5 separate regions of the Homo sapiens genome follow, and regions 2, 3, 4 and 5 are each linked to region 1. Evidence: promoter capture Hi-C in human tissues and cell types (Jung and others, 2019). All regions are on one chromosome and are shown on one strand. Each heading gives the region's core, a stretch centred on a gene start or on the middle of the fragment in contact. The rest is flanking DNA. Distances are from core to core; before and after follow the strand shown. Region 1 holds the start of FOXC1 (forkhead box C1). Region 2 overlaps GMDS (GDP-mannose 4,6-dehydratase). Region 3 overlaps GMDS (GDP-mannose 4,6-dehydratase). Region 4 overlaps GMDS (GDP-mannose 4,6-dehydratase). Region 5 overlaps GMDS (GDP-mannose 4,6-dehydratase).

What was found. Contacts are between HindIII fragments. The study calls those that stand out against the background at their distance.
Region 2: a contact is called between a fragment that was not itself captured here and the fragment with the promoter of FOXC1 in region 1, in 1 of the 25 tissues and cell types used here (heart right ventricle).
Region 3: a fragment that was not itself captured here is called in contact with the fragment with the promoter of FOXC1 in region 1 in 1 of the 25 tissues and cell types used here (IMR-90 fibroblasts).
Region 4: a fragment that was not itself captured here is called in contact with the fragment with the promoter of FOXC1 in region 1 in 2 of the 25 tissues and cell types used here (H1 embryonic stem cells and lymphoblastoid cells).
Region 5: a contact is called between a fragment that was not itself captured here and the fragment with the promoter of FOXC1 in region 1, in 1 of the 25 tissues and cell types used here (aorta).

The regions. Positions count from the first base shown.
Region 1 is chr6:1,607,218-1,611,728 of GRCh38, reverse strand. FOXC1 (forkhead box C1) reads right to left here and starts at 1,814. Exons shown (of 1, transcript NM_001453.3): 1 at 1-1,814. The coding sequence starts at 1,283. It overlaps FOXCUT (FOXC1 upstream transcript), which reads right to left. Exons shown (of 2, transcript NR_125804.1): 2 at 4,371-4,511. RefSeq lists enhancers at 957-1,056, 3,770-4,279 and a silencer at 1,387-2,006. The HindIII fragment of the contact is 11,200 bases long and covers 1-4,511 here.
Region 2 is chr6:2,008,178-2,012,688 of GRCh38, reverse strand. The region is part of intron 4 of GMDS (GDP-mannose 4,6-dehydratase); the gene reads left to right. Among named protein-coding and RNA genes, the nearest start is that of GMDS, 240 kb to the left of the region's middle. The HindIII fragment of the contact is 5,524 bases long and covers 1-4,511 here.
Region 3 is chr6:1,978,048-1,982,558 of GRCh38, reverse strand. All of the region lies in intron 4 of GMDS (GDP-mannose 4,6-dehydratase), which reads left to right. Among named protein-coding and RNA genes, the nearest start is that of GMDS, 270 kb to the left of the region's middle. The HindIII fragment of the contact is 5,340 bases long and covers 5-4,511 here.
Region 4 is chr6:1,948,750-1,953,260 of GRCh38, reverse strand. The region is part of intron 6 of GMDS (GDP-mannose 4,6-dehydratase); the gene reads left to right. Among named protein-coding and RNA genes, the nearest start is that of GMDS, 290 kb to the left of the region's middle. RefSeq lists an enhancer at 1-846. The HindIII fragment of the contact is 8,040 bases long and covers 1-4,511 here.
Region 5 is chr6:1,881,186-1,885,696 of GRCh38, reverse strand. All of the region lies in intron 7 of GMDS (GDP-mannose 4,6-dehydratase), which reads left to right. Among named protein-coding and RNA genes, the nearest start is that of FOXC1, 270 kb to the right of the region's middle. The HindIII fragment of the contact is 6,892 bases long and covers 1-4,511 here.

The sequences.
Region 1 (4,511 bases), core at 565-3,064:
AGGGGGTCGTCCACGGCCGAGCCGCCCGCGCCCCCGGGCGCGCCCTGCAAGTGGCCCCCGCGCTCGCCGGCCGCGTACAGGCTCATGGCTTGCAGGTTGCAGTGGTAGGTCCCGGCGCCGCCCGCGCCCCCCGCGGCCCCCGCGCCGCCGCCGCCGCCGCCCGAGCTGCCCGCGCTGGAGGTCTGGCTGCAGGGGGAGCTGTAGAGGGAGCTCTGGCCGGGCGAGTAGGCGCCGAGCGCCAGCGGGGGTGCGATCCCCGCGCGCGAGGACGCGGCCGCCGAGGCCAGAAGGCCGGAGCTGAGCTCCGCGGCCGCGCTCTGCGGCGACCCCCGCAGCGACGTCATGATGTTGTCCACGCTGAAGCCCTGGCTATGGTGCGGCGGCGGGGCGGAGGGCGCGGGCGGCGGCGGCGCGGAATCCGCACCGTCCAGGCTGAGCGGCCGCGCCGACGGCAGGCTGCCCGGGGGGCTGCTCCCGCTGGACAGGCTGCTGCTGCTGCTGTCGGGGCTCTCGATCTTGGGCACCGCGGCGGCGCTGCCGCTGCCCAGGGCGGCGGCCGGGGACAGGGGCTGGGGCGGCGAGGGGCACGTACCGTTCTCGGTCTTGATGTCCTGGATGCGCACGGGCGGCGGCTGCGGACCGGGCGCGTTGCCGTCGGCCTGCTCCGGCGGCGCGGGCGGGGGCTGGCGGCCGGGCGGGGGCGGCTCCTTGAGGTGCAGCCTGTCCTTCTCCTCCTTGTCCTTCACCGCGTCCTTCTTCTTGAAGCGCCGCCGCCGCCGCAGGAAGCTGCCGTTCTCGAACATGTTGTAGGAGTCCGGGTCCAGCGTCCAGTAGCTGCCCTTGCCCGGCTTCTTGTCGTCGCGCGGCACCTTGACGAAGCACTCGTTGAGCGAGAGGTTGTGGCGGATGCTGTTCTGCCAGCCCTGCTTGTTGTCCCGGTAGAAGGGGAAGCGGTCCATGATGAACTGGTAGATGCCGTTCAGGGTGATCTTCTTGTCCGGGGCGTTCTGGATGGCCATGGTGATGAGCGCGATGTAGCTATAGGGCGGCTTCACCATGTCCTTGGGCTGCGGCTGCGGCGTGTAGGGCCCGTAGGCGCGGGCCATGCCGCCCGGGTACTGCTCGGCGTGCGCAGGGTGCGAGTACACGCTCATGGGGGCCGGCATGGCGGTGTAGCCGCCCCCGGCCGCCGCGGCCGCCGCGCGGTAGTAGCTCTGCTCGCCGCCGAGGTAGGGCACCACTCCCAGGGAGTTGGGGCTGGACACGGAGTAGCGCGCCTGCATGGCCCCCGCTCGCCGCCGCCCCGCGCCGCCCGCCGCCCCCCACCCTCGCTCGGGCCGGGCCGCGCCGCGCCGGCCGCCGAGTCCGAGTCCGGGCCCGGCCGAGCTGGTGCCGGCCCGCTGCGCTGTGCGTCCGGCTGCGCTGCCGCCTCTCCCGGCGCTCGCTGGGGCTGGCTCCTCCGGCGCCTCGGGCTACCTCGGGGCCCGCGCGGCCGCGAGGCGGGGTCGCTGCGAGGGGAGAAGGCCGGGCCCGGCCGCGGCAGACCGCCTTGCAGGAACTCGCGGCGCAGCTTCCAGGCGCAAACGGGGGAAAGCAGACAAAAAGAAAGAACAAGCAGGCGCCCTTCTCGCCACACTGCCTGCGCCTTCCAGGAGACTCTGCCCTGAGCTGCCGGCGAAGGCGGCCAAATAACCAGGGCGGGGGGGGGGGGGGCCGCGCGCCGGCCGCCTGCCCGGGCCCCGCGTCACCTTTTCTCGGTCTCTCGCGCGCCAGCCGCTTAAGGAAGCATTGGGAAAACTTCTGAACTTTTGAGCATCCGTCACCCAGGCGAGGACTTTTTTACGCAGTTACACTTTTTTCCGGGCAGCGGAGCCCCGCCCCGCCAGCGGCGGCAGCCAATGGGAGGTGAGAACCGCCTCCGAATGAGCCGGAGGCCGAGCCCTGCCGGCCCGCTCCCGGAGGCCGGAGGACCGCGGGGCTGACCACACGCGCGCCGGCCGCCCTGGCCCGGGCCCCGGCCCTGCGCCCGCGCCGGCGCCCGGCCCGCCGTCGGTTCGCCCCCCGCAGTCCACCTGCCTGCCGCCGGCGCCCGGCAGACCTCCCACCCCGGGCCCTCCGGACCCACGCCCGCCGTTCGCGCAGACTTCCTGGGTCCTCCCGGGACCCCGTGCAGACCCTTCCTTCGCCCACGGCTCCCGAGTGGCCCTGGCGTCTCCGCCCCGCCTCGTGCTGGCTCGCTCTCATTCCTTCGCCAGCCCCGCCGACGCCAGCGCTGGGGTTGCCCCAGCCTCTCCTCCCCGCCGCCTCTCCCCTCCCGCAGCCCCTTCCCTCCCTTCTCCAACGCCAGTCTCACTCGGGTCACTGACGTCTCCGGCTTTTCTCCACTTGGAGGTTCTCCTGTCCTGAACTCGGCTACAAAGGACATGATTTTGAGGGCTCGGTCACAGCCAGGCCCTGCTCGCGGTGGGGAAGAAGGTTCGTCGCCCATCTGGCCCCCCTCCATGACCCCTCCCCAGCCGAAATGAAGGCAAGGGGTGCGGGGCCCTGCTGGGAGTTTCCGACGGCCGTTCACCCGCGAAGGATGAGCCCGCCCCGCTGCGGGCCGCCCTGCTTCTCGCCCCCCTCCCCGGGGGGCCGGCCCTTGGCGGCCTGAGGGTGCGGGCGGCGAGGGCTGCCGGAGCCCGGCTGCTGCCCCGCGCTCCCCTGCCCGCCCGCGAGGGTCCCACCGGCTCGCCGCGCCGCCGCCCCCTCTGATCCCGTCAGGCCCGTTTCGGCTCAGATGAGGGGTCAGGCTGCGGGCTCGGTGACATTAGCAGGTGTGATGACAAGAAGCAAATAAATATGTCTAAGAGCTTAACGCTTCCCCAGGCCAGTCTCCATCTCCACATGCGCGGGGCTGCCGGCTCGCAGAGACAACGGGTGTGTCTGGGGGAACGTCCAGGGTCGCACCTAGAGGGCGGTTCAAGGATTCTGGGGGGACACGCACGGAAGGGCCCCCGCTCGTTGTGCACACGCCTGAGATTCGCCGTCGCTGGGTGGTTGGAATGGGACAGGAAGAAGAGAAATGAGGGAAAGAAACGAAGGAGCGGGAAAGAGCCAGGCCTCCCTCCCCCGGCACGGCGATTCTGCATTTTAGCGACTTGAGGAGAGACCCTCCCGGAGGCTGAATCCCAAGTCGTTCACTAGAAGCTGGGGGAAGTGGCGAGCTCAGGAGACTGCGAAGAAGCGTGCGTGACGCATTTAACAGCTCCGCTGCCCCTGATTTCCGACCATCTATTAAATCCAAGGACATGTTCGGGACCCCTTTTGTCTCCCCGGTTCGAATCCCGGCTTCCTCACGTTGGCAGGAAAATTCAAATTGCAGCTTCGGCTGTTACATGTGAAGGACGCTGACGTGTAGCAGGCGCATCTCCGTGTCACCTGAATATTTAAAAATTACTGTTTCATAATGGACATTGACATCGAAGGAAAGAGGACCTGCCTCTTCTAGAATTAGCCTTTGGAGGAGGGAGGGTTGCCCCGAGGTTGCTCTGAATCCCGGGGCAGCTGCCTCCTGGCCTGCTGTGCGCCGGGGTCTCTGGAGACTCCTTTTCCAGGTGGTTTGCGGGCCAAGTCACTGGTGGGTTGGAGAAGCACCAACAGGAGGCTCAGCACTTGCTGGTTGCCAAGGACACTAGACAGGGGCGAGGGTGGTGGTGAAGCCCCAGGACCTGAACACTTAATTCCTGTTCAGCCCCCAGCCCGGCACCCTGAAGGTCTTATCAGCCCGCCTGGTCGAGGCTTTAAGGAGTGCTGTGGCTTCAGCCTGGAGGAGATTTAAGTGGTCTCCCTGAACACCTCAGCAAGTGGTGAGTTCGGTCTTGAAGCTGCCTTTTACACTGCTAGCGGTGCGCGGAGATGAACGCAGCGATTACGGATGCTTTGTTTTCCGAATGCGGGAAACGCCTTCGGCCCCGAGTTTTGCAACAGGCAATGGTGCCCCGCTGCCCCCTCCCCCACCAGCCTGTCGCCTCCTGCTCTTCCCTGCCTCCTCCCTCCATCGGCCCAGTGAAGTGTAAACAGCTTGTTATGTAAATTGCAAATCGACCTGCAGCGGTGTTCTCAGCTCTCCGTTTTGGGTATAAAAGTCGCCGTTGTGAAATTAGTGTCTGGCGTGCGAGAAAAAATGGAGGGACGTAGTTTTATCAAGATCAACTTTCCACTGGTTTAGCTCTGGATATTCGCCAGGAAAAGATATTTGCATTTGTGTTTTATAAACTTACTCGGAAGCAAGCCTCCAGTAAGCGGCTTGATTGTATTTCAAGCACTTTTCTTATTTCATTTTTGTTGTTAGTGGTGTTATTTGAACATTAAGACGCAGGCATGAAGTCTTTTGGGGAACAGGTTAAAGCTTTTATTTTCAGGTTACAGTTTTTGATGCCCCTTTCTGCTACTCCACGGGGTACTTCAATCATCCGCTTCCGCACATCTCTTGACTCATTTGGCAGAAGAGCCCCCACGGGAACCCTTCG
Region 2 (4,511 bases), core at 523-3,022, 400 kb before region 1:
GATAAGCCAATCTCAACCGCCATTCTCTATATTCACCTGTCTCTCCAGAAAAAAAATAAAAAAGAATAATTTTAATGTGGTTGTTTGCCCTGTGACCTAAATTCTCACATGGACCTAAGAAAAGTCATCGGTTTTCCATTTCCTCAGCATTTTTCTTGTTGTGAGGACTAGTGGTAAACCCAATTTCTTTATATTTTGTAGCTGAAACCACCCAGCTTTCTTTTCATTAGTGTTTGCATGATAAAACTGTCCGTCCTTTTAACCAATCTGTCTTCATACTTATATTTCACATAAAAAACATATTATTGAGTCTTACAACAATTTTATCTAGTGTGAAAATCTCTATTAATTAGAATATTCAGACCATTTCACTTAATGTAATTATTCATCTAATTAGATTACAGTCTTTTAATTTTATTTCATTTGTATTTCTATAAATTTAGGGGGTGTGAGTGCGGTTTGGATCCGTGGATATATTGTGTGGTGGCGAAATCTGGGTTTTTAGTGTAATCATCACCCAAATAGAGTACATTATACCCACCACGTAATTTCTCATCCCTCACCCCCCTCCTGCCCTTCCAAGTCTGTGATATCTTTTATTCCACTCTCTATGTCCATGTGTACACATTATTTAACTCCCATTTATAAGTGAGGATATACAGTATTTGACTTTCTGTTTCTGAGCTATTTCACTTAAGATAATGGCCTCTTGTTTCATACACATTGCTAGAAAAGACATGATTTTGTTCTTGTTTTATTTTACTTTTTATTTTTGAAGACAGAGTCTTGCTGTAGACAAGAATGCAATGGCATAATCATAGCTGATTGCAGCCTCAAGTTCTAGGCTCAGGGGTTTTCCCATCTCAGCCTCCCACGTAGCCAGGACTATAGGTAATGCGCGACCACGCTTAGCTAATTTTTAATTTTTAATTTTTTTCTAGAGACTGAGTGTCATTATGTTGCCCAGGATGGTCACGAACTCCTTGCCTCAGGCAAATCCTTCCACCTCAGCCTTTCAAAGTGTTGGGATTACAGGCATGAGTCACCGTACCCGGCCCTGATTTTGTTCTTTTTTATGACTGAGTAGTATTCCATGGTATATATGCCACATTTTTAATCCAGTCTTCCAATGATGGACATGTATGTTGTTTCCACATCTTTACTATTGTGAATAGTTCCGTGATAAACATATAATTGGAGGTATCTTTTTTATATAATTGTTTCTTTTCCTCTGGATAGATACCAAGTAGTGGGATTGCTAGATCGAATGATAGTTCTATTTTCAGTTCTTTGAGAAATCTCTATACTGTTTTTCATATAAGTTGTATTAATTTACATTCCCACCAACAGCGTATGTGTTTCCTTCTCTTTGCATCCTCACCAACATCTTCTATTTTTAGACTTTTTAGTAATAGTCATTTGGACTGTTGTAAGATGATACTTCATTGTGGTTTTAATTTGCATTTCCCTGATTAGAGATGTTGTGATCATTTTTTCTTATGCTTTTTGGCCATTTGTATGTCTTCTTTTGAAAAATATCTGTTCATGTCCTTTGCTGAGTTAAGCCCTTTTAATGTTTTGGTTTTTATTTGTCACATTTGTTCTTGGATCCTTTCCCCCGTCTTTTCTTGCCTTATTTGGGTTGAATTTGGTATTTTTAAAGCATTCTTTTAAATCTTTATCTTATTTGTTTATACCTGTTTGATTTTTTAAAAAATAATTTCTCTAGATTTTGTAATAAGCACCTGTATCTTATCTCTCTCTATTTGTAGACAGTATTATATCACTTCCCATATAATGTAAGAGGTTGACAATAATATACTTCCATTTCCTCATTTGGTCTTTGTTCTATTGTTTTCATAGATTTTATTTCCCCATGTTTTTAACCCTGCAATATATTTTTATTATTTTGACTTTAAACAATTTTTAAAACAATTTTTAAATGAATAAAAGGCTTATTTACCCACATCTTTATCACTTCTGATGTTCTTCATTTCTTTACATAGATGGAAGTTTTTATTTGGTATAGTTTTTGTTTAGTCTGATTTACATTTCATGTAGTTTCTGTTTGCTCTCAGTGAATTTTTTCAGCTCTTGTTTGTGTCAGCCAACATCTTCATTTTACCTTATTGAGTGTTATTTTCATAGATATAGAATGCTAGTGACTTTTAGCACTTTAAAACTCTTTTTAGATTAGATTCTGTTTAACATTTTGACAAGTAATCTCATCATCCTTGTGTTCATTTCTCTATGGGTCTTTTTCACTCTGTTTGCAACATTTTTGCTATATCACTAGCTTAGGGTAATTTGATTTTGATGTGCTATGTGTTTTTTTTTTTCTTTCTTTCTTTTTTTTTTTTTTGAGATGGAGTCTTGCTATGTCACCCAGGCTGGAGTGCAATGGCACGATCTCGGCTCCCTGCAACCTCTGCCTCTCGGGTTCAAGCGATTCTCTTGCCTCATCCTCCCGAGTAGCTGGGACTACAGGTGACCACCACCACACCTGGCTAATTTTTGTATTTTTAGTGGAGACGGGGTTTCACCATGTTGGCCAGGCTGGCCTTGAACTCCTGATGTTGTGATCCACCCACCTCGGCCTCCCAAAGTGCTGGGATTACAGGTGTGAGCCACCGTGCCCAGCCTGATGTGCTGTGTGTTTTTCTTGTGTTTATCCTGCTCAGGGTTCGTTGGGTTTCTTGGATCAGAAGGATTACAGTCTTTATCAATTTATGACAGTTTTCAGCCATTATATCTTCAAGTATTTTTCTTGTATTTCAATAGCATGTTAGACCACTTTTTCCAACTGGTCATTGAGGCTATGTTCAAAATAAATATAAGCAATCTGTTTTGGAGAGTACAGTAACGTGTTTTTTGATACTTTGTAGAATTCTGCTGATAGAGATGAAGATCCTATTTGTCATTGACATTGGCAGCTTTTATCACATTCTGTAATAATAATCATTTTCCCTTTCCATTTTTTAGTATCTTTACCAGTTTTCATCTCCTTTGTTCCTGATGTTTTGGGTTCACATTAAATCTTTGCTGCTTGATTTATTCCTTGCTTAGACTTATCTGTGCTGCTTTAAACGAACCAAGGATTGAATGGTTTTCTGTGCTCAGATCTAACATATTTGTGAAAGAGACCCTCCTGCCTTTTAAAAAGCATATCTTTGTGGCATTGTGAAAAGTTCCCAGCTGGGAATCTTGGATTCTAGTCTGCTTTTGACAGCAATTACAGGACCTAAGATCTCTGAGGTGTAGTTTACTAAACCATTGGTTCCTGAATCTGGCCATGTACCTAAAGATAACGTTCTGAATTCCCATTCCTCAAGTGTCTGATATCATAGATGTAGTATGGGATTTGGGAAGCTATCTGTATAAAAAGTCACCTAAATGGAGCCTGTTTCACTGTTGAGAGTTGGTTGGTCACTACTTCTTCATGGTTTAACCAAATGTCAATCAGGAAATACAGAATGTAGAGGCATCAGGATGTGTGAATGTTCGTATCTTGAGTTTAGTTTGGGAACAAAGAGCCTAAAATGTGTTCCCAAATGTGACTGGTCAGTCAAGAAGTGGCACTAAATACAAACCTAGCCACTTTTCTCCTTTAAATTAGAATAAAAATACCTAGCTCATTGGATTGTTACAAAGATTAAATGAAATGCTGAATATAAAATACTGACAGTAATAACAGCACTTAACATCTTGCTTCCTGTTTTTATTTTTATAAACTCAGTTACCAATCTAGCAACTTGCTTTTCATAGAGTAATTGGCAAAGTAAGTAAGAGAGAAAGCTGAAACTTAAACACAAAACCAAAAAATGAGGTATGTTACGTACCTGCTAGGGCATGTAACAAACTAAGATCAGTGCTGTGGAGCACATGTCTACACCACCTTGGGAGCAAAGGAACTTCCAGCAGGACTCACAGGACAAGTATGAAGCACTAGTTAATCTCTGAGATTCATTTAAGATATAAAATATTTTTCTAAATGAGTCATTTTCTACAGTCTTGGCCTATTGATATGGTTTAGGTACATGCAAGCTAAGCTCCTTAATTGTCTGTTATCTACAAGAATGCTTCTCTTTTTGCCCAGCAATATAGAGTATCAGCATTTCTATCAGTCATCAACAAGCTTGATAGTGAACTGTCAGCTGCTCAGCTCAGGGGTAGAAGAGCTGAGTAGTTATGAAAGAGGCAGCCAAGGGACACACTGCTGAGTCCATCCACTAGATCAGCCAGTCCTGACATGTATGCCATAACAGCCATAACATATTAACTCCACAGTCAGTGAAGAAAAACGCATCATATGTAAGTGTGACAAGTATTGGTTTAAATATGTATAAATCAAAGCCATATATTTTGTTTTTCATCAAGAATAAATAAAAGAAACAATCCTAACAAGAAATTTTACATTTAAAACGATGTTAAAAATGCTTTCCTACTGAAATTTAGTGCTAAGAAAATGTTGCTGTCTTGGGAAGAACTAATATGGATACTCTTAATCAAAT
Region 3 (4,511 bases), core at 1,425-3,924, 370 kb before region 1:
AGTTTTTGCACAGTGATCCTGAGACTTGGCCAAAGTTGCTTATCAACTTCAGAAGTTTTTGGGCTGAGACAATGGGGTTTTCTAGATACAGGATCATGTCATCTGCAAACAAAGATAGTTTGATTTCATCTCTTCCTGTTTGAATACCTTATATTTCTTTCCCTTGCCTGATTGTCCTGGCCAGAACTTCCAATATATGTTGAATAGGAGTGGTGAGAGAGGGCATCCTTGTCTTGTGCTGGTTTTCAAGGGGAATGCTTCCAGCTTTTGCTCATTCAGTATGATAATGGCTGTGAGTTTATCATATTCACTGCAACCTCTGCCTCCCAGATTCAAGTGATTCTCCTGCCTCAGCCTACCAAGTAGCTAGGATTACAGACACCTACCACCACGCCTGGCTAATTTTTGTATTTTTAGTAGAGATGGGGTTTCACCATGTCAGCCAGGCTGGTCTTGGGACTCCTGACCTCAGGTGATCCACCCGCCTCAGCCTCCCAAAGTGCCTGGATTACAGGTGTGAGCCACCGCACCTGGCCAAAGTATTTTCTGTTAATACCTAGTTTACTGAGAGTTTTTACATGAGGGGATGTTGAATTTTATGGAAGGCCTTTTCTCATCTATTGAGATAATCATGTGTTTTGTGTCTTTAGTTCTGTTTATGTGATGAATCACATTTATTGATTTGTGTATGTTAAACCAACCTTGCATCCTGGGCATGAAGCCAACTTGATTGTAGTGGATAAACTTTCTGATGTGCTGCCAGATTCGGTTTGCCAGTATTTGGTTGAGGATTTTTGCACTGATGTTCATCAAGGATATTGGCCTGAAGTTTTTCTTTTTTTTGTTGTACCTCTGCTAGGTTTTGGTGTCAGCATGATGCTGGTTTCATAGAATGAGTTAGGAAGGAGTCCCTCATCCTCAATTTTTTGGAATAGTTTCAGTAAAAATGGTACCAGCTCCTCTTTGTACCTCTGGTAGAATTCAACTGTGAATCTATCTGGTCCTGGGCTTTCTTTGGTTTGACCTCCTCAATTTCAGACTCATTATTGGTCTATTCAGGGATTCAGTTGCTTCCTGGTTCAGTCTTGGGAGAGTGTATGTGTCCAGGAATTTATCCATTTCTTGTAGATTTTCTAGTTTATGTGCTTATAGGTGTTTGTAGTATTCTTTGATGGTTGCTTGTATTTCTGTGGGAACAGTGGTGATATCCCCCTTATCATTTCTGATTGTGTTTATTTGAATCTTCTCTCTTTTCTTCTTGATTAGTCTAGCTAGCAGTCTATTTTATTAATTTTTTTCCAAAAACCAGCCTGAATTTTTTTTTTTTGCAGGTTTTTTCATGTCTCTGTCTTCTTTAGTTCAGCTCTGATCTTGGTTATTTCTTGTCTTCTGCTAGCTTTGGGGTTTGTTTGCTCTTGGTTCTCTAGTTCTATTAATTCTGATGTTAGGTTGTTAATTTGAGATCTTTCTAGCTTTTTGATGTGGGCATTTAGTGCTATGAATTTTTCTTTTAACACAGCTTTAGCCGTGTCCCAGAGATTGTGGTATGTTGTCTCTTTGTTCTGATTAGTTTCAAAGAACTTCTTGATTTCTGTCTTCATTTCATTATTTATCCAAGAGTCATTAAGGAGCAGGTGTTCAATTTCCATGTATTAATAGTTGTGTAGTTTTGAGTGAGTTTATTAGTCTTGAGTTCTAATTTGATTGGGCTGTAGTCTGAGAAACTGTTATGATTTCAGTTCTTTTACATTTCCTGAGGAGTGTTTTTCCTCTGATTATGTGATTAATTTTAGAGTAAGTCTCACGTGGCTATGAGAAGAATGTTTCTGGGTGGACAGTTCTGTAAATATCTATCAGATCCTCTTGATCCAGAGCTGAGTTCAGGTCCAAAATATCTTGGTTAATTTTCTGTTTTGATGATCTGTCTAATATTATCAGTGGAGTGTTAAAGTCTCCCACTATTATTGTTGGGAGTCTAAGTCTTTTTTTGAAGGTCTCTAAGAACTTGCTTTATGAACTTGGCAGTGCTTTTTTATTGAGTGTTTGTATATGTAAGACAGTTAGCTCTTCTTGTTGAATTGAGCCCTTTACCATTATGTATGCCCTTCTTTGTCTTTTTTTTTTTTAATCTTTGTTGGTTTAAAGTCTGTTTTGTCAGAAACTAGGATTGCAACCCCTGCTTTTTTCTGTTTTCCATTTGCTTGGTAACTTTTCTTTCATTTCTTTATTTTGAGCCTATGTGTGTCCTTGCATGTGAGATGAGTCTCTTGAACACAGCATACCAATGGGTCTTGTTTTTTTATCCAGCTTGCCATTCTGTGTCTTTTAATTGGAGCATTTAGCCCATTTACATTTAAGGTTAGTATTGTTATGTGTGGATTAAATCCTGTCATGATACTAGCTGGTTATTGTGCAGACTTGTTTATGTGGTTACTTCATAGTGTCACTGGTCTGTGTACTTCAGTATGTCTTTGTAGTGACTGGTAACAGGTTTTCCTTTTCATATTTAGTGCTTCCTTCAGGAGCTCTTGCAAGACAGGTCTGGTGGTGACCAATTTTCTCAGCATTTGTTTGTCTGAAAAGGATCTTAAATCTCCTTCACTTATGAAGCTTAGTTTGGACAGATATGAAATTCTAGATAGGAAATTCTTTTCTTTAAGAATGTTGAATATTGGCCACCAATCTCTTCCAGCTGGTAGGGTTTCCACTGAGAGGTCTGCTGTTAGTCTGACGTGCTTCCCTTTGTAGGTGATCTGGCCTTTCTCTCTGGCTGCCCTCAACATTTTTTCTTTTATTTCGACCTTGGAGAATCTGATGATTATGTGTCTTGGGGATCATCTTCTTATGAAGTATTTCACAGGGATTCTCTGCATTTCCTGAATTTGAATGTTGGCCTATCTTGCTAGGCTGAGGAAGTTCTCCTAGATGATAACCTGAAGTATATTTTCCAACTTGGTTCCATTCTCCCCATATTGTTCAAGTATCCCAGTCAGTTGTAGATTCATTCTCTTTACATAATCCCATATTTCTCAGAGGTTTTGTTTATTTCTTTTCATTCTTTTTTCTCTATTCTTTTTTGCCTGTCTTATTTCAGAAAGACAGTCTTCAAGCTCTAAGATTCTTTTCTCCACTTGGTCTATTCTGCTGTTAATATTTGTGATTGCATTGTAAAGTTCTTGTAGCATGTTTTTTAGCTTAGCTCTATCAGGTTGGTTCTGTTCCTCTAGACTGGCTATTTTGGCTGTCAGCTCCCATATGTATTGTTTTAGCTTCTTCGCTTTGGGTTACAACATGCTCCCTTAGCTCAGCAAAGTTCATTATTACCCACATTCTGAAGTCTCCTTCTGTTATTTCAGCCATCTCATCCTCAACCCAGTTCTGAGCCCTTGCTGGAGTTACTGCAGTCATTTGGAGGAAAAGGGGCACTCCAGATTATTGAGTTTTCAGAGTTTTTGTGTTGATTTTTTTTCTCATCTTTGTGGGCTTATTTACAAATGAGTTGCTGACCTTTGGATGGAGTTCTTGTGGTTTTGTTTTTGTTGTTTTGTGTTTGTATGTTTGTTTGTTTTTAATAGTCTGGCCACTCCAGACCCTAGTTGCCTCAGTTTTTCCAGTACCTATCACCAGTGAAGGCTGTGATATAGCAAAGATGGCAGCTTGCCCCTTCCTCTGGAAGCTTCATCCCACAAGGGTACTGACCTATTGCTGGCCTGAACGCACCTGGAGGAGGTGGCTGGAGACCCTGGTTGGAAGTCACACCCACTCAGGAGGAACAAGATCAGAGACCCACTTAAAAAAACAATCTGGCTGCTTTTTGGTAGAGCAGCTATGCTGTGTTGGGGATCCCTTCAGCCCCTGATTGGTTTGGGCTCTCCATGGCCCACAGGCAGCCCAAACAGGCAAGGTGATGACCTGCCCCACCACTCAGGCGCTCTGCCCCAGGGTGAAATTAGAGCTCTTTAGGCCCCAAAGAACATGGGGTGGGAGGGGGTGGCTGGAGGCCCCAGCTGGGAGGACCCGCCCCACAAGGAGGAGTATAACGGAGTCCTGCTTAAAGAAGCAGTCTGGCCACACCTCTACAAAACAGCCTTCATGGTGGGGAACCCCCTTTGCCTCAGTCGGCTAGGACTCTCCAAAGCTGGCAGGCTGGAATGGCTGAGTTATCCAACCAACCCAGGTGGTGGCCCTTTCCTCTTCCAGGCACTCCATCCCAGGGAGACATCAGAGCTCTGTCCCTAATACATGCGCTTGGGCATGGCTGGTGGGCCCACCAGGTAGGTCCCGTCCAGTGAGGAGGAATGGATTGATGTCCTGCCTAAAGTAGCAGTCTGGCCTTTAACTGACAAAGCTGCTTTGGTTCACTGCTGGGGGGACCCTTCCTCGTTGGGACCCTTTGGACTCTCCAAAGCCCGCAGGTTGGAACAGCTGAGTTATCCAGCAATCCAGGTGGCAGCCTGCCCCTCTCTCCGTGGGCTCCGTCTGGTCTCAGGCAGTCTCCACTCTGTTGCTGG
Region 4 (4,511 bases), core at 509-3,008, 340 kb before region 1:
ACTAAGAACAGCAGCCTCGGTTTCTGTGAGACTTCCTAGGGTCCACGTCCTGGAGGAGAAAGCCCTGACCCAGGGGTGTGACGGAGAAAGTTGTTCTGTGCTGCCGGCTGTTGGCAGGCCTGCCTCTCATACCCAGCAGCCCTTTGCTTTCCGCAGGAGATCAGTTGAAGATTTCCGTCTTTCGATGAGGATATTTTTCTTATGTTGACTCATTTTAGTCTTTCGATCATTAGGAAAGTTTGGGCAATGTAGTAACCTCTACTTCCAGGACTGACTGAGGAGGTGATGTTTGGTTACATGAGCCTACCTCGTGGGCCGTTGGTTACCAGCCGTGAGTCACTCATAGGGATTGGCTTCATCCCTGGATACCTTTAGCCTGAGTAAGAAATCACGTTCCCTGTTGACAGCGTATTTCTTCCATTCTCCTCCCACTCTTTCTTCTCTCAGTGTTTAAGAATGGGACATTTACTCAGTCTGGGTAAAGCATTCTCTCTCCCTGTGGATCTTCTTTTCTCTTCCTTTCCATATTTGCCTAACGCCTAACTGAGCCTCTCTTCTACTTGCCATATGTAACTTTGCTCCTCTGTCTCTGACCATGGGGCCTTGCAACAGATCCATCACTACCTTCTTCCCCCAGGAGCGCTTCCGTTGCTAAACTGTCTGTTCAGAATTTCATGAGATCCTAGTAAATACTTCCAGAAAGCTGGTTTATTTTGTATTTCATTCTGAGTCACGAAGAACTTTTTTTAATCATCTCCCAGCTGAGGAATCAGAGGGGTTTGGCTATCATCATCATCATCATCCTTACTGTGAAAAATGCACGCTCATTAGCTCTTCGTGTTGCGTTTGACATAGTGATTTAATACTCCACAGGTACTTTCAGAGACATTTTGACTAACTTGTTTAACTTACAAATTTTTTATCTGTATGTGGAAATGAAATTCATGTGTACTTCTATTTTTCTCTATTTTTTAATTTTAAAAATGTGTATTAAGCCATTAGATACTATTTTTTCCTTGAAAGAGCTTCTAGGGAGCAGCCAGTTAACATCCACCTGTAGGTATTCTCCCAAAATACCCTCAGAATTTGTGAAATAGGAATTTAAAGCTTCTTTCATCTCCCTTTTTTCAGCAATGAGGAAACAGAAGCAGCATGAGATTGAGTTGTCCAAGGTCGTGAAGCCAATAAATGCTAACACGGAGACCAGAAATAATCCTAGGAGAAGTCATGTAAATATTGTACATATTTGTGGAAATAACATATATACGAATTTTAGAGTTGAACTTGAGCAAAGAAACCCCTGTGACACTGAGTGGGCCACCTCAGCTTGGCAGTGAAGCAAGTGGACAAGTTGGAAACGGAATGTCTCAGCTGCTCTTATCTTTGTAAAAGACCATTAGTTTGCTTAAAGGCAATATTCCTTTAAGATGTTTGACAGAAATAATTACAATAAACATAGTTTTATAATATTAGAATATAAATGTGATATGAAATAAATAACTTCTCTTGCCTGTTATCAAGAAGTTGGTAATAGGAAGAACTAATATAAAAGACATTAAAAATCAGGCCGGGCATGGTGGTCATGCTTGTAATTCCAGCACTTTGGGAGGCTAAGACAGGAGGATAACTTGAGGCCAGGAGTTGTAGACCAGCCTGAGCAATATAGTGAAACCTCATCCCTACCACAAAATAAAAAATAAAACATTAAAAATCATGTGGCAATGGGAAGCTATAAAGTACTTTAAATATACCCATAATTAACCGTGTGAGATTGCCACAAATGGATGGTGTACTAGCACTGTTTAGATACTGAGCCATTTCTAGATGAGATAGGACATTCCTTTAAATATGGGCTTCATAAGAAATCATATACATCAGTCTAAACACAGTATTCACCTGACTGAAAGAATCTGGCATTTTTAAGGTTCATGAACTTGTGGTTTTGAGTTTTCGTCTTGAGCATTTTTTTAGCTGCCAAGTACTTTGCTTTATAAAATGTCTGACTGTATTTATCTTTATAAATTAATCTTCAGAATTTTTAAAATAATTCATGTAAAAATTACTTGTCAAAATTTAAGTAAAATTTGGGGTAATTTTCCTTTTGATTTGTTTTTTAAAGATTGTCTTTATTTGTTGCTGTAAAGATAAGATTAATGCTCTAGAATAGTGGTTCTCAACTAGGGGTGGGGAATGGGGAGAGAGTGGCTCTTTCCTCCAGAGGACGTCTGGCAGTGTCTGGAGATATTTTTCTTGTCCCAACGGAGGAGGGGGCTACTATTGGTGTCTGGTAGGTAGAGGCCAGGGATGCTGCTGAACATCCTACAGTGCACGGGATGGCTCTATAACAAACGCCTGTCCTGTCCAGATGGTTCATAGTGGTGTGCACGGGATGGCTCTATAACAAACGCCTGTCCTGTCCAGATGGTTCATGGTGGTGAGGATAAGAAACTCTGCCCTAGGATGTCATCCTTCCAAATGTGCTTGCAGAATCTGTGTGAATGCCACCTGTAACAGATGAGATGAATGCCATCTCATTTTTCGTTACACTTCAGTTTTACTTTACAGTAAATTCTTCATAGAACAACAGTAGGGTCTCATTTTTCTTTAGGTATCACTTTCACTTTACAGTAAATTCTTCATAGAACTTTAGCAAACATTTACGTGAACACCAAAGAAAACATTCGGATTCAAATAGCTCCAGGGCCTTAAGTATTATGGTCTGCTGCAGGTCAGACCCAACTCAAACCCAGGACTCTTCTAATCATTGGAGGCTGAACCCTCACCTCAGTGACCCACTGATTCACGAGCCAAGTCAAGATGGGTTTGGGACCCTCCCAAGCCTCCAAAATCAATGAACATGTTTACTTTTTGTTATTAGTTATAAGAATAACACATTTTTCATTTGAGAATAAGTTGTAGAGTCCATGATCTGGCTTTGATATAAAACAACAGTTAGAACTGATTCAAGATTATCTTTCAATGCATAGGATTATACTAATATTAGTGTGAAGGGTTCACTGCATATGAGAATTTTCCTTTAAAACTATTAGAATTCATAGATGTTTTAGTGCTTTAGGGAATAATATAATGCATGATAGAAATTAGGTAACTGGGACTTGTTTTCAGTTAATCACAATAGGCAGAAAACACTTTCTCTCTGTGTAAATACTACATATAACATGTCTAAATAAAATAATCTTTAAAAAATTACTGAATATTGGCCAGTTTGGCAAATTCAAATCATGCACTGTAGAAGTATCAAACAGGCAAACCAATAGCAAATACCTTAATATTTTGTTTGTATTTCTAGCTATAAAAGGTGCTTTGTGGCTTTTGTAGATGAGCATCAGAGACTTAATTTATTGCAAAAAATTTTAGCAGCCCATTGTGAAATCAGGGGATGAAGTAATCTCCTGTTGGAGTTCAGTAGAGCATTATAGGTTTTACACAATACCATTTGTCTGTCCATAAATGGTTAGATTGTTGGCCGCTACTCTTGGACCCACCAGGTTCTGGGTAGCCTTTCTGGTTGGGGCACAAAGTGACATCATCTGGTTTACCATTGCATTTGTAGACTATGATACTTCATAGATGACATGTACACTTGGCGATCACAAAGCTGTCTGGCCCATGTTATTCTTTGTGGAGAGATGAGGTGTAATTGCTTAAACATAAAAGACTTTTGAAGCAATACTTGGTCTAATGCAGGTGCTGATTACCACCAAACAAAATGAAATCCCTCCCATCTCCTGAGGTGAGATTTCTGGAATTGTTAAATTGAATTCAAGGGGTTGTTTTTCAGTGTTTTGTAATGTCTGTGACATTTATGTTTGAAACCAAACTGATAACTGTCTGATGACATGTAGCACAGTTCCCTGCAATATAGCCACGCAGTATATATACACAGAGAATTTGGCCACTCATCATCAGCTGTGTGCATTTGGGCACGTCACTTACTCAGATCTCAGTTTCTGCATCTGCACATGGAGAGGTTAATAACGCCCACCTGATGGAGCAAAGTGCAGCTCTGTCATTTCAGCTCACTGTGAAGGTGATGGGGAAAACTTACAGGGAAAAGATTAATACAGTGCATAGTAGATTTTGAAGATTTATTTCATATTTCCTTTCTCTTTTCTTCCCTGTTCCTGTATTTTCAATGCTGAAAGCTAGAGAATTAGTTTTTTTACTCCTTCCCTTCCAAAGTGAAAGACCCTGTTGGAGGCAGCTCTGTTAGTGGGATTGCTGTGGCTACTGGCATAAGAGGACAGTGAGAAATGTGAACGCTGCAGTGCCAGCCAACAGAAGATGGTCCTGAACCAAAAGCCAAGAATCTTTCAGTGGTGTTGACAGATAAAACAGAGTAGTTCGGCGAGACACCCGTGAATTGCAAAAAAATAAAATGTAAGTAGTATTGAAGAATTGCTGGAATCACAGGAAAAGCCATTCAAAACGAGATTTTGGCAGGTAAACCAGTTAACATTTGAATTAGGAAAGTCAAGAAAAGACGATGA
Region 5 (4,511 bases), core at 628-3,127, 270 kb before region 1:
GACACTTAAACGTGGGAAGCGGGCAGCCCACAGACTGACAAGGTGGACTCTGCCCTCTAATACTTAGGCAACCTCGGAGACCAAGGAACAGTCACGACCTTGTCACGTCACTTTCCACTGTGATCTTTATAAACTAAAGCATAGTGTCTTAGCACTATGAAAACACTTCGTTCTTTGCCTTTGTAGTCTCCAGCCAATGTCGGTTTAGATATATCCCTCCCATGGTTTCTCCTACTCTTCCTTGGTGTGAGAAAGTGAAATAAAGTTCAGATTAAACATTTCACTTCTTCACTGGTATTTGTGGCACATTAATTTGATATATGATAAAGATAAACAAGCAGAACCAGAGAGTAAGGGGGAGAATCCACTTATTCTAAGATAGCTTTTCTTTTTCAACTTCAAAATGAGAAATAATTATATTTATCTCTGTAACATGGAGATAACTAGGCTGTAAATTAATTTCCATGCAGGCTTTTCTAATAAATTACAGAGTTTTACTCTTTTCCAGAATCAGGAGTCCAAAATGGCATCTCTGGGTCAAGTGCTCTGAGACTTCTGACCTTGTTTCTCCATAACGAGGGCTTTATCCCCTTAAATTCATAAATTACTTAAAACATCCTTTTAACATCTCAGAGGAGAGGTGCCAGATTGCTTAAATATCTCCTGTTTTATCAGAGTGCTACATTCATTTTTCACTCATTTCAATGTAGTTTCCTCCTATAGTTAAATCACCATTTCAAAATTTAACATTGAGTTAGGGAGCGTATAGATAAATGATAGAACTTTGTGACTGAAATAGATAAATCTTGGGCCACTGCCAGTAGATAAATAATGTCTATTCAAGCATTTTAGAAGTGATCAGCTATGAGGTCGCGCAGCTCAGGGCACCGTAGCCTAATGCACTTTTTAATGAGTAAATCATTGCTAACTGGTGTGCTCATAATTTAACTCCTTTTTAAATATACTGCCCATGGGTTTTGCCCCTAAAATGCAAGTGAGGTACCCTAAGGGCCAGAAGAGGACTGGGAACATTTACAAATGAGCATGACACTAATGTGAACCAATGGATTATTTGCATTCCACTGCTTCAGTTATCACTTAATGGCTGCAGGCTCTGATGGCAGGCCTGTGGACTGTGTTATGTTAGCCTCAAAAATAAATGCTAATATCTGCGAAGTTTTCACATTCCCCACCATATTTGGTCAATTGTGCTAGCTTAGCCCCTTAAGGGCTGCCAAGAGTCTTGTTGGCAAAAATGCCACTTTGGTGAAGACATAGCTGACCACCAGTCCTATTTGTAGACTTTCCCTGGTTAACGCTACATCATTTCCTCCCCTTAGAACTCTGGGATTTGTGCTTTTTATTAAGTGTGATCATTTGAGTTAAATATAAATTGCCCTCTTATATCATATTTTCCTTTGTTGGCAGTGTTTTGGTCTTTGGATAATTCTCCCAAGGGAAGTTCTCAACTGTATAAGTTTAATGAATGGTTGTATTGATCTGCTTTTCACATAGATATTTGATTGGGTACTTGGGACCATTTGGTAGAAAAGTAAGATATATGGGGAGAAAGGAAATGACTATTTCAGGTTCCTATATGTGGTTTAATTGTGGCTCCTTTTCCTTACATTGAGGCTCTCGCTCTGATTGTAATTACATTAAATCAAAATCTTTACTAGTTAAAAATTGTATAATAAATATTATATAGATGGCCATGTTCTGTCCATCTATTCTAAATGAACTGGGATTAAAACTAGGTAATAAATTTTGTAATGATTGGGAAATGCCTAGTTTTGATTAAATAAATGTGTAATAATGTGTTTGAGTTTATGCCCTTTATTTGGTTAATACTGAAACAAAGTATATGGGGTCAAAATTCCTTTTAGATATATTTAAATGTTAAAATTTAAATATTCATGTTTTAATGGTGAAGCTTTTTCATTGCTTGGCTCAGCACACAAAATAATTTGTACATTTTTAAGTAGGAGGAAATGTCTTTCAGTACGAGGGGAGCTGACTTGTAGTGCTGTGTCTGCTCCTTAAATATGTATGTGTGTGAAAATTAGACTTACCTAGATTTTTTTCAGCAAAACAGGGTTTTAGAGTGAGCTCATGTATCTGAGAGTATTTCTAGCTTTTAAAATCTATGATTTTATAATATATGTGGAAGGTTCTTTTTATTCAAATTGTCTTTAAGGTATTTAATTTGTTTAATTTTTAAAAATCCATTAATCAATGTATAAAAAAGATAAATGGACAATTGTGATTTCCATAAAATTATTATTATCATTTTATTTTATTTTTTTTGAGATGGAGTCTCGCTTTGTCATTAGGCTGGAGTGCAGTGGCACGATCTTGGCTCACTGCAGCCTCCGCCTCCTAGGGTTAAGCAATTCTCCTGCCTCAGCCTCCCGAGTAGCTGGGATTGTAGGCGTGCCTCACCACACCCAGCTAATTTTTGTATTTTTAGTAGAGATGGGGTTTCACTAAGTTGGCCAGGATGGTCTGGATCTCTTGACCTCGTGATTCTTCTGCCTCAGCCTCCCAAAGTGCTGGGATTGCCACCGCACCCGGCCCATAAAATTATATTTTTAAAGAAATCAAAGTCCTACTTATATATTTGTTTTTAATGCCACAAATTGTACATATGCAAAAAGAGTAATCCTTTTCTCTAGGAAATGGCTCATGCTAGTACTGCCAGCATACCTACCATGATATGAGTTCCTATGAGGAACCAAGCTAGATTACATACACAGTTTCTTCTAATCCTCACAACAATCACTCGTGATAGAGATTTGTTCTGTTTTACCAAAGGAAAAACCTGGAGCTAAGCCTAAAAGTTATAAAGACCGGGGAATTCTGAACTTGGATAACCCATGAGTTTTCTATTATGTCATGTTGCCTTATCCTTATAAATCCATTAGATAATGACTTCAAGACAATATGATGTGGAATTTAAATATCCTGTCTGTGGCCACATTAGTGCTTATTAGATAATCAGCAGTAATAATTGTGTTTGGATCCTTTTGCTCACTGACCCTCTGCTAGACACTGCTTATGACGTTGAGTTCTTAAGATTGGATTTTTTTCTTTTTTCTTTCTTAACTCCCTATGCAAAGTCCTTCGTTAATTATTTCTCTCTCTTCTGTTTAATTGATTCTGTGTCATGATTATTCTAATTGCAAAATATGGAATCTTGTAATTAACTTGTCATACTATTCTAAGAGCACCTCTCATTACACTTTGGTTTATTTCATTCTAGCCATTTATTCATATTTGAGTGTATACAGTTGTACTTATGTACACACACGCATATATCCTTGTGCATGCTCAACTAAACTGGGAATTTTAACCAATATTTGCATTTCTAAGCAATATTATATATCCATTTTAAAAAGCCAATTAAATAGCTCTTTGGTGCAGTACACTGAGAGTATTGTATGTCAGTTTTCTCTGCCTCCAGCTCTGAGGGACCAAGGGCTATGAAGAATTCTCAGACCCCAGATGCCTGCTAAATATGCTTAATTTAGACAGCATAAACTGTATGTTCCAGTTTGAAAATACCACACCATGTTTTTTAAGCCCATGCCTTCCTTCATTGATTTAGAAAAGAAGTTCTAAAAATAAAATACTCACCAGAAATAAACCTACTTACATGTGTATTTAAAAATAATCACTTAGATTATCTTTTGTGGACCAAGAATTGGTGACATAGGACCTTGTCTTGGAAAAACTCTGTGAGTTTTACTGTAGCTTGTGAGACTTTGAATCTTACTGCTGTCTGTGGTTCTGGAAGGTTTTGTCTGCCTCCTTCTAATGGTAATTCTTACCAGATCTCTCGCTGACTGTTGGTCATCTTGCCAGATCTTGAGTGATGTCTTTTGCTTCATCCTGCTGTGCATCTTGCAGGAAAGTAGATGCTCTTGGTCATTTGAGTAATCCGAATCTTGTTATTTCCAGTCAACTCAGTTGGATTTCTGGGATGAGAATTAGAGGAGTCCCATTGAAAAACTGGAATGAGAGATGAGAAGTTTGCTGAAAACAGAACATTTTTTTGTGTGTGGATTGATTTGCCTCGTATACCTGCCTTGTACTTTAACCACATCTTTGCAGTTTAAAATAGAACACATTATTTCTTCAGATTCACTTATTTTGACTACATCAGTAATGCTCTTACAAGGCTGCATGACAGATTTATGGTGACATGCTTTAGGCAGTTCAAAATCCTTAAACCTATATTCAGCTCCTTTTTTCCTAGAAAGTAAGTCATCTTAATTTTCAATCTTTCTTTCTTTTTAATCTTTTAATGATTTTTTGGGGGAGAGGAATCTTGTAAGTTAGATTCTTCAAGCTTGGCTACAAATGGGTTAAAATATAGTGTGAAATATTATACTTTCTCCTATTTGATTTTGTCTGCTCATTTGTTTCTCCCATGTTCTCAGTATACATTCCAAGTTTATTGTCTGTATCACTTGTTCCATTTCTGCAGGAAAGGCTGCTTTTCTAATTGT